2 separate regions of the Homo sapiens genome follow, and region 2 is linked to region 1. The links are contacts of gene promoters, found by promoter capture Hi-C in blood cells and fetal thymus (Javierre and others, 2016). All regions are on one chromosome and are shown on one strand. Each heading gives the region's core, a stretch centred on a gene start or on the middle of the fragment in contact. The rest is flanking DNA. Distances are from core to core; before and after follow the strand shown. Region 1 holds the start of CD302 (CD302 molecule). Region 2 overlaps BAZ2B (bromodomain adjacent to zinc finger domain 2B).

Region 1 (4,294 bases), core at 1,043-3,542:
ACCACTGACCAAATAAATACATACTGATCATCTATTATGTGCTTAAGCACCCTTACGGAAAAACTTTTTAAAGCGATGCCATGGATTTTCACTCAGGAATTTAAAGAATGTTTTGTCCACTGTGATTTTCAAAATAATAGCTAAGAACAAGGTTAAGATCACTTCACTAATAACCTCCAGAATGACAGACAATAACAATGATTTCCGTTTCAACATCACATTTATATGCAATACCCATATTTATTATGCAACATCATAAGAGCTTTTCTATTAAGATCTTGGTATTCAGCAACAAACTCTTTCTTGACTTAGTTCTAAGCCAAATATGACCCCTGATCTTGCTTGGATGGGAGATTTGTAAAGTATTATGAAAAACACACTTAGTTTTTCAGCCCTATAACATTAGCATACATATGAATGTGTTCAGTAACCATAAACATCCAATATACATAAGGTGGTATTCATACGTTTTCTGGTTGCAACAATTACCCTTCATTTTGTATGAAGAGAATAAAGGGAAGGAAACCAAGATGAACCACGCCTGTAATAGGGACTAGACGTGGAGTTCCCACTTAATGCTCCCAATAGCCCCATGAGTAAGTATTATCTCTGTTTTACTGAAGTGCAGATAAGTTGGTTAACTAGCTAGGTCAAAGCTCACACTCATTTCCAAATTAATCCTTAAAGCTTCCTGACTGGGAGGAGCTGATTAATTAACATTAATTTATTCATCATGCACTTTTCTAAAGCTCTTGAAAAGCCTATTGATCCACACTGGACTTATCAAAGGAAATGCACAAAAATTTCCAAAGGGAAATTTGCCCTCTATTGCTGGTCAAAACAGCTTCACTGAAGAAGAGACATACCAAAATCTAGAAACTGATTTTCTTTAAAAGTCTGACAAGAAAGAAAAATCTGACAAGAAAATTCGACTAGCCTAAAGTACAAATGCACAGCCTCGCAGAGGGTGGTTTACATGAGAGTTGAGATGTTACTGGCTCGCAAAATGAGGGTGTGCAGAAGGAGGGTTCAGAGACAGCCCAGCTTTGTCTTAGACAAAATTAATGTTCCCAGTCTGAACAATGTGAACATGGGCACATCTTGTTTCTGCCCCTTTGATAGGCAGCAGATGTCACAACCAGTCATAAATGCAGGTCCACAGAAGTTTTCAAGAAAGGAACCTTGGGTTTGTATCCAAGTTCTGAGCTGCTGCTGCCTCCAACACTGAGGTCCACTGAAATATTCCTGTCAGTAGACTTCGAGCAGGCAGTTATTATAAAAACGCAGTGAAATCTGGGGCAAGGGGTGGGGGGGGGGAATCTCTTGCATTTTATTTAAATCTCTTGCACTTTATTTAAGCCCACACAAGTACTCATTTAGTTCTTGTTTATTTTGCTCTTTAATTCCTGGAATTATTCAGTCAGTGGTGTTTTTGGAAGTCTGTGTTCTCCAGAGTCTCCCCATCCACATATTTTTGACATGCTTGTATGGAAATTTTTTAAAAATAAAGACCACGGTCAATAGAATTGTGCATTTTCCTCACGAGTCGTTTTGTAAATGAATGATCACGTGTGTGATTTTTCAGATGTCACTTGCACAACAGCAGACTAGAACTTTAAAACTCCTTGATTTCAGTGAAATCCAAGCTTTGCCTATTCCCGTTCCTCTTCCATCCAGGGGTTATTTGGCTGAACTGTTTTCCTGTTTAAACAACTTGAACACCAACCAACTAGACAAACAGCGCTGCTTGCAAAAGAGGGCCTACTTCCTCCGGCCCCCACCCCCATCCCAGCAACCCCACTCCGGCCGCGCACCAGCAGGGGAAATCGCCACCAACGTCCCCGCTTCTCATTTCAGCCCGAAATTGCCCTGAAACGGCGCCCGTCGTGCGACTCCAAGTCCCTCAGTTCTCCGGCCAACTGGCCTAATTTGGGGGTTCCCTCCCCGCGGAGTGGGGTCTGCGGTGAGGATGTGGACTCCGAGGAAGACAGAGCCCTCCCTTATTCTCGGCCACCTCCCCTCCCCGAGGGCAGGCGGGTGAGAGGTGACCCGGAGCCAGGACCCACGGGGGACGGGCGTGCAGGGAAGGGCGGGATGGCCGGCCGGGTGTTGCGTCTGCGGGCCGCCCTCGGGTGCGCGGGGACGAAGAGCGTGCGTTGGGAAGGGGGCGAAGGCGGTCGCGCACGGTCCCGGCGAGGGACTACGTAAGGGCTTACCCGCGACGGCAGCAGCGGCGAGGCCCAGCAACGGCAGCAGGAGCGCGGGCAGCGCGGCCCGGAGCATGACGGCGGGTGCGGGTGGGCGGCAGCGGCTGCGCGGCCGGAGAGGAGCGGGGCGGGGCGGGAGCGGGGGCGGTGCTTCTCGCGTGCGAGTTTAATCCCCCCCCCGGGCGGAACGTGAACGGCACTGGGGGCTCCCACCAGGAGAACCCGGGTGTCCCGTCCCGCAGGAGCGGCTGGCGCGCGGCCTTCTGGAACTTCTAATTTTTGTTTTTTAAACTTTTCATTTGAATTGAAATAATTTAGGACTTTCGAAAATGTTGCAAAAACAGCACAAGAGATTTCCGTAACCCTTCAGCCAGCTTCTCTAAATATTGACATTGTATATAACGCCAGTGCAGTGATCAAACACAGGGCACTCGCACTGGGATAATGCGATTAGCTAATCTACAGCACTTACCACATTTCATTAATTGCCCCTCTAAGGGTCCTTTTCTGTTCCAAGATTCAATCCAGGATCATACATTGCATGTCGTGTCTCCTTAGTCTCCCTTTAATCTAGGACGGTTCTCTGTCATTCTTTTTCTTTCACGATCAAACCACATTTAAAAAGTACTGGCCAGTCGTTTTGTAGAATGTCCCTCAGTTTCATTTTGTCTGACATTTCCTTCTAATTGGATTCAGGTTGCGCTTTTTTGGGAAAGAGTTCCCCAGAAGTGATGTACGTGCTCGAGAAGGACAAGATGTCGATGTCTCATCACTGATGTTAACTTGGATCAGTTGGTTAAGGTGGCGTTTGCCAGCCTTCTTCTTTGGATCTACTGGCCAGAATCCTCCTTTTCAAAGACCCCTTTCAGTGGACTATGTCTCTTAGACAACTTTTCTCTGTTACCAGCTCCTGGATGAAGAGTCTTTAAGCTATGTTTGCTACAATGTATGCATAAACTGTGCAATTATACTTCACCCATGAGGGCCTCTGGACAACACTAGCCAGGGTCAAGCAAGGGTGCTTGTTTAAGCCTCATGTCATTGGCAAAAGAGTTCTATAAAATCAAGTCTAAACTCAACAACGTGAAAACAAATGACCCAGTTAAAAAAAATGGTCAGATGATCTGAATACACACGTCATCAAAGAAGTTATATAATGGCAAATAGATGAAAAGATGCTCAACATCATATGTCATTGCTGAATTGTATATGAAAACAAAAATGAAATACCACTACATACCTATTAGATACCAGAATCCAAAAACACTGACAAGACCACATGCTGGCAAAGATGTGGAGCAAAAAGAACTCTCATTCAATGCTGGTGCAAATGCAAAATGGTACAGCCACTTTGGAAGACAATTTGGAAGCTTCTTCCAAAACTAAACGTACTCTTACCATACCATCTAGCAATCACAACTCCTTGGTATTTATCCAAATGAGTTAAAAACTTACATACACACAAAAACCTGCACATGAATGTTGATAGCAGCTTTATTCATAATTGCCAGAACCTAGAGGCAAACAAGATGTCCTTCAATAAGTGAATGGATAAACAATGGCACATCCAAACAATGAAATGTTACTCAGTACCAAAATTAAATGAGCTATCAAGCCACAAAAAGACATGGAAGAACTTTAAATATGTATTGCTAAGAGAAAGAAGCCAATCTGAAAAGACTGCATACTATATGATTCCAACTATATGACATTTTAGACAAGGCAAAACTATGGAGACAGTAAAAAGATAAATGGTTGCCAGGGGTTGGGGTGGGAAGAAGGAGGGGATGAATAGATGGAACACAGAGGATTTTTAGAGCCATGAAATTATTCTGTAGGATACTGTAATGGTAGATGTGTATCACTATACATGTGTCAAAACCCATAGAATGCACAAAACGAAGATGAACCCTAGTGTGGACAATGGACTTTAGTTAATAATGTGTCAATATTGGCTCATCCACTGTAACAAATGTACCTGCTAATGCAAGATGTTAATAATTGGGGAAACTGGGGTATGTGTAAGGAGGTACATGGGAGCTCTGTACCTTCTGCTACATTTTTTGTATACATCTAAAACTGCTCAA
Region 2 (4,294 bases), core at 506-3,005, 240 kb before region 1:
TTTTTTTTTTAGAGATGGAGTCTCTCTATTGCCCAGGTTGGAGGGCAGTGGCACAATCTCAGCTCACTGCAACCTCCACCTCCCGGGTTCAAGTGATTCTCCTGCTTCAGCCTCCCGAGTAGCTGGGATTACAGGTGTGTGCCACCATGCCCAGCTATTTTTGTATTTTTAGTAGAGTCGGGGTTTTACCATGTTGGCCAGGCTAGTCTCGAACTCCTGACCTCAGCTGATCCACCCACCTCGGCCTCCCAAAGTGCTGGGATTACAGGCGTGAGCCACCGCGCCCAGCCTACCAAGGCTACATTTTCATAATCTTTCCTTAATAATTCATTACAATCTCAAGTAATTTACTTTTATATATATTTCCTAATGTGGAATCACCTTAACCTTTCTGTCATTTTCTGGTAAAAATAAAAACTCAAAAAAGATGACGTTCAGAATTTAAGTCACACTGAAATAATTTAGTATATTTAGGCCTGTAATTTCAGTTGTAAATTAAAAGTAATTTTCATTTTAAATGTTTTTTAAATCCTTTAAAGTAATATTTTAAAAGTATTTAAATAACTAGCTAGAAGTATAAGATATGATTCATTTAAAATGTTAACATTCAACTGGCTAGCAAAAGAAATAATAATTTCAAATTATATATGTTTTCTAAGTCAATTCTCATTCTCAGAGAAAACCAAACTTCCTTAAAAGCTTAACTATCATTTTGGTCTTACTGTGATCAATGTGGTCAATCTTGTGACATCACTGTTGGGAAACCTGCAATAGGAAAACAAGAATTAGCAATCAGCTGAAGCATACTTAAGAAATTTCAGAAACTAAAAAGTTTGTTTAAAATTTGTGTCTTTCTTCATGCTGTAAGTCATATTGAAATTAACCTACGGTATCAGGGTCCATATAATCAGTATGACAAAAATAAGCATAAAAGGACTGGAGTTTATTTATAGATCATTATTTATTATAGTATGGCAGATCATGTTTTTGTTTATAATCACCAACACCCTAGGGTGAACATAACATATTAAAAAACAAGCTGTAGGACATTTGGGTTACAAGTTTTATTTGTCTTCAAATTACGTACTCAGAAGAGAAAAACAATGTCTTAAATACGTCACAAACTGAAGACAATTAGGTATTATTTATAAATACTTTTCTGTCTATGATTATCAGTACAGATTAGAACCAAAATGTCATCTACTTAATACTGGAGACATTACCACATGCTAATATTTATGAATAGCGACAAAATTATCAAAAGATTGAAAATATCACTGGGAAGAATTTAGAACAGGAAAAAACTATTTCCTAAACTGTAAATGGCTTCAAGTTTATCCCTGTGAAATCTTAATTTTTGGAATTTTTTGTTGTTTTTTCGAGACAGAGTCTCAATCTCACCCAGGCTGGAGTGCAGTGGCGCGATCGTGGCTCACTGCAACCTCTGCCTCTTGGGTTCAAGCGATTTTTGTGCCTCAGCCTCCTGTGCAGATGGGACTACAAGTGTGCACCACCACACCCAGCTAACTTTTTGTATTTTTTGTAGAGACAGTGTTTCGCTATGTTGGCCAGCCTGTTCTCAAACTCCTGGCCTCAAGTGATCCACCTACTTTGACCTCCCAAAGTGCTGGGATTACAGGCATGAGCCACCGGACCTAGCCTGGAAATTTCTTTATTAACAAGGTCTAATTTGAGATGAGCCCTTAAATGTTTAGTATCAAAAAGTAACACATGGTTATGGCATTTTAAGGTTCATAATGGACTTTCATGTATTATTTTATCAGGTCCTCATAACGAATCCTTCAAAGGGGCAGGAAAGAGATATTCCTTATTATAGACTCCAGGAAAACAGAATTTAGAAATGATACATGACTTGTCTAAGCACAAAGAACTGAATTTTTCCTGGTTTCTCTTTTACCTCAGACCTTTCACCTAGTCTGTCCTACCAACTACTCTTCGTCACTCTATCCTTAATTTTACCTTACTACTTCATGATTACTGGCTCTCCTATGTTACCATTATAGCCTCCCTACTTCTATTCTTTTTTTTTTTTTTTCCCTGCCTCAGCCTCCTGAGTAGCTGGGGACTACAGGTGTGTGTCACTACACCTGGCTAATTAATTTTTTTTTTTTTTTTTTGAGATACGGGGTCTCACCATGTTGCCCAGGCTGGTCTCAAACTCCCGGTCTCAAGTACCTACCTCTGTTCTTAAAGCAAGTTAATCAGATCACATCATTCCCTTACTCAAAATTGTACAATGGCTTTAGCAGCTCTTAGAATAAAACCCACAATACTTATTATCATGACCTCTTAGGCCCTCTGTTACCTGGTGCCCTGACTGCATTTCCTGCTTCTACCATGTTCCAGTCACAATCACCCTTTTGATAATCCCCAAACATATCAAATTTGTTCCACTTCAGGGCCTTGACACTTGCTCTTCCCTCTGCCTGGAGCAATTGTTCTCCATATCTTCATAGGACTGGTTTTCTCACTTCAATCGGGTCTCATAACAAACGCCACCTCCTTAGAGAGGCCTTCCTTTACCACCAGAGGCTGCTGTTAGCTTTAACTCCATGAAGGAAGATCACTGGAGCACAAGTTTAGTACCTGGAACCCAATAGCTAATTAGCTACTGAATGAATGAGTGAACAAGTATTTATCAAGTTCCTACTGCATCCAGCATTATGTCAAGAGCTACAAAGGATCCAAAAGAAAGTTTAAATAAAAACTCTTCAAGAATTACTATCTATTTAAAGAAAATATGCCATAACAACTTGGTATACGTTTTTAAGTCACTGCAAGAAGCATTTGGGAAGCTTAAAAAAAAAAGCAAGGCAGGGGGTGATGGGAAAGCGCGGGTAGTGAATTAAAGGTGTATGATAATGAGGGTCTGGATAGTGAAGAAGAGGAAATGCAGAGGGAATGGGAAACCCAAATCTTAAATGGTGAAACCAGAAGGCTTCATGCTAAACTAAGTATTAGGAACAAGGATAGCAAAAAAGTGAAAGATTACTTCAAAGATTCTCACTCACATAATGAAAGAAATCTGAAGTGGCAGGGTGGGGTGACTTTTATTTAGAACAATAGGACAGGCCAGTGTCACCATAGGCCATTCAAATGAAGACGCTTCCCACCAGCAGGTAGAAATTTATTTATTTATTTATTTATTTTTTGAGATGGAATTTTGCTCTTGTTGCCCAGGCTGGAGTGCAATGGCGCGATCTCAGCTCACCGCAACCTCCACCTCCCAGGTTCAAGCAATTCTCCCGCCTCAGCCTTCCGAGTAGCTGGGATTACAGGCATGCGCCACCATGCCTGGCTAATTTTTTTTGTATTTTTAGTAGAGACGGGGTTTCTCCCTGTTGGTCAGGCTGGTCTTGAACTCCTGACCTCAGGTGATCCGCCTACCTCGGCCTCCCAAAGTGCTGAGATTACAGGCGTGAGCCACTGTGCCCGGCTCCAGCAGGTAGAAATTTAGAAGAGTTCAAGATTTGAAAATCAGTTATATAAAAGTACAGTTCAAGCCAAGACTGTGGGCAAGTTCACCAAGGGAATATGAAGAAAAAAACAGAACAGCCAGCATAATTTGGCAGAGACCTATAAGTAGGGCCCATGGGAAATAAGAGAAGTGGAATTGCAGGGTTTTTTGTTTTGTTTAAGTTCAAGAAGTAGAGACATAGAAAATACAATGAATAAAGGCACATGAAGAAAGATTTCCAAAGAGGAAAACATGTTGAACAGTTTTAGAGGGGTAAAAGTGTTAAGATGGGTAAAAGAAGATAAGACAGGAAACATTCTCTCTAAACTAACCTTCTCTACCCCATCATACCAAATTAGATCAGAAGGTAGCTACATAGGCCAGGCGCGGGTGGTTCATGCCTGTAATCCCAGCACTTTGGGAGGCTGAGGCAAGCAGATTGCTTGAGCCCATGAGTTCAAAACCAGCCTGGGCAACATGGTGAAACCCTATCTCTACAAAAAATAGAAAAATTGGCAAGACATGGTGGCACACGCCTGTAGTCCCGCCAAGCTACTCATGAGGCTGAGGTAGGAGGATCACCTGAGCCCAAGGAGGTCAAGGCTGCAGTGAGCTCTGATCGTACTACTGCACTCTATCTTGGGTGAAGGAGTAACCCTGTTAAAAAAAAAAAAGAAGGTGGCCACGGAGATAAAACACATTACTCTCTCTGTATCCAAAAAACTGCTTTCAAGGACCTACCTGCCTAACATTAAGCTCTCAACTTTAATCAATGCAAAAATAGTCTTTTGATGGTAACAGAGTCAATACAAGAAG

What was found. The method cuts DNA at HindIII sites, captures the fragments that hold promoters and counts their contacts. A CHiCAGO score of 5 or more calls a contact.
Region 2: a fragment that was not itself captured here is called in contact with the fragment with the promoter of CD302 in region 1 in 1 of 17 cell types (M2 macrophages); the score reaches 5.4 in M2 macrophages.

Annotation. Positions count from the first base shown.
Region 1 is chr2:159,795,916-159,800,209 of GRCh38, forward strand. It overlaps CD302 (CD302 molecule), which reads right to left and starts at 2,293. Exons shown (of 6, transcript NM_014880.5): 1 at 2,217-2,293. The coding sequence starts at 2,283. All of the region lies in intron 33 of LY75-CD302 (LY75-CD302 readthrough), which reads right to left. LOC124906083 (a long non-coding RNA gene) reads left to right here. Exons shown (of 2, transcript XR_007087273.1): 1 at 1-2,037; 2 at 2,904-4,294. The HindIII fragment of the contact is 1,931 bases long and covers 1,645-3,575 here.
Region 2 is chr2:159,555,101-159,559,394 of GRCh38, forward strand. BAZ2B (bromodomain adjacent to zinc finger domain 2B) reads right to left here. Exons shown (of 37, transcript NM_013450.4): 2 at 723-765. Among named protein-coding and RNA genes, the nearest start is that of BAZ2B-AS1, 58 kb to the right of the region's middle. The HindIII fragment of the contact is 2,117 bases long and covers 698-2,814 here.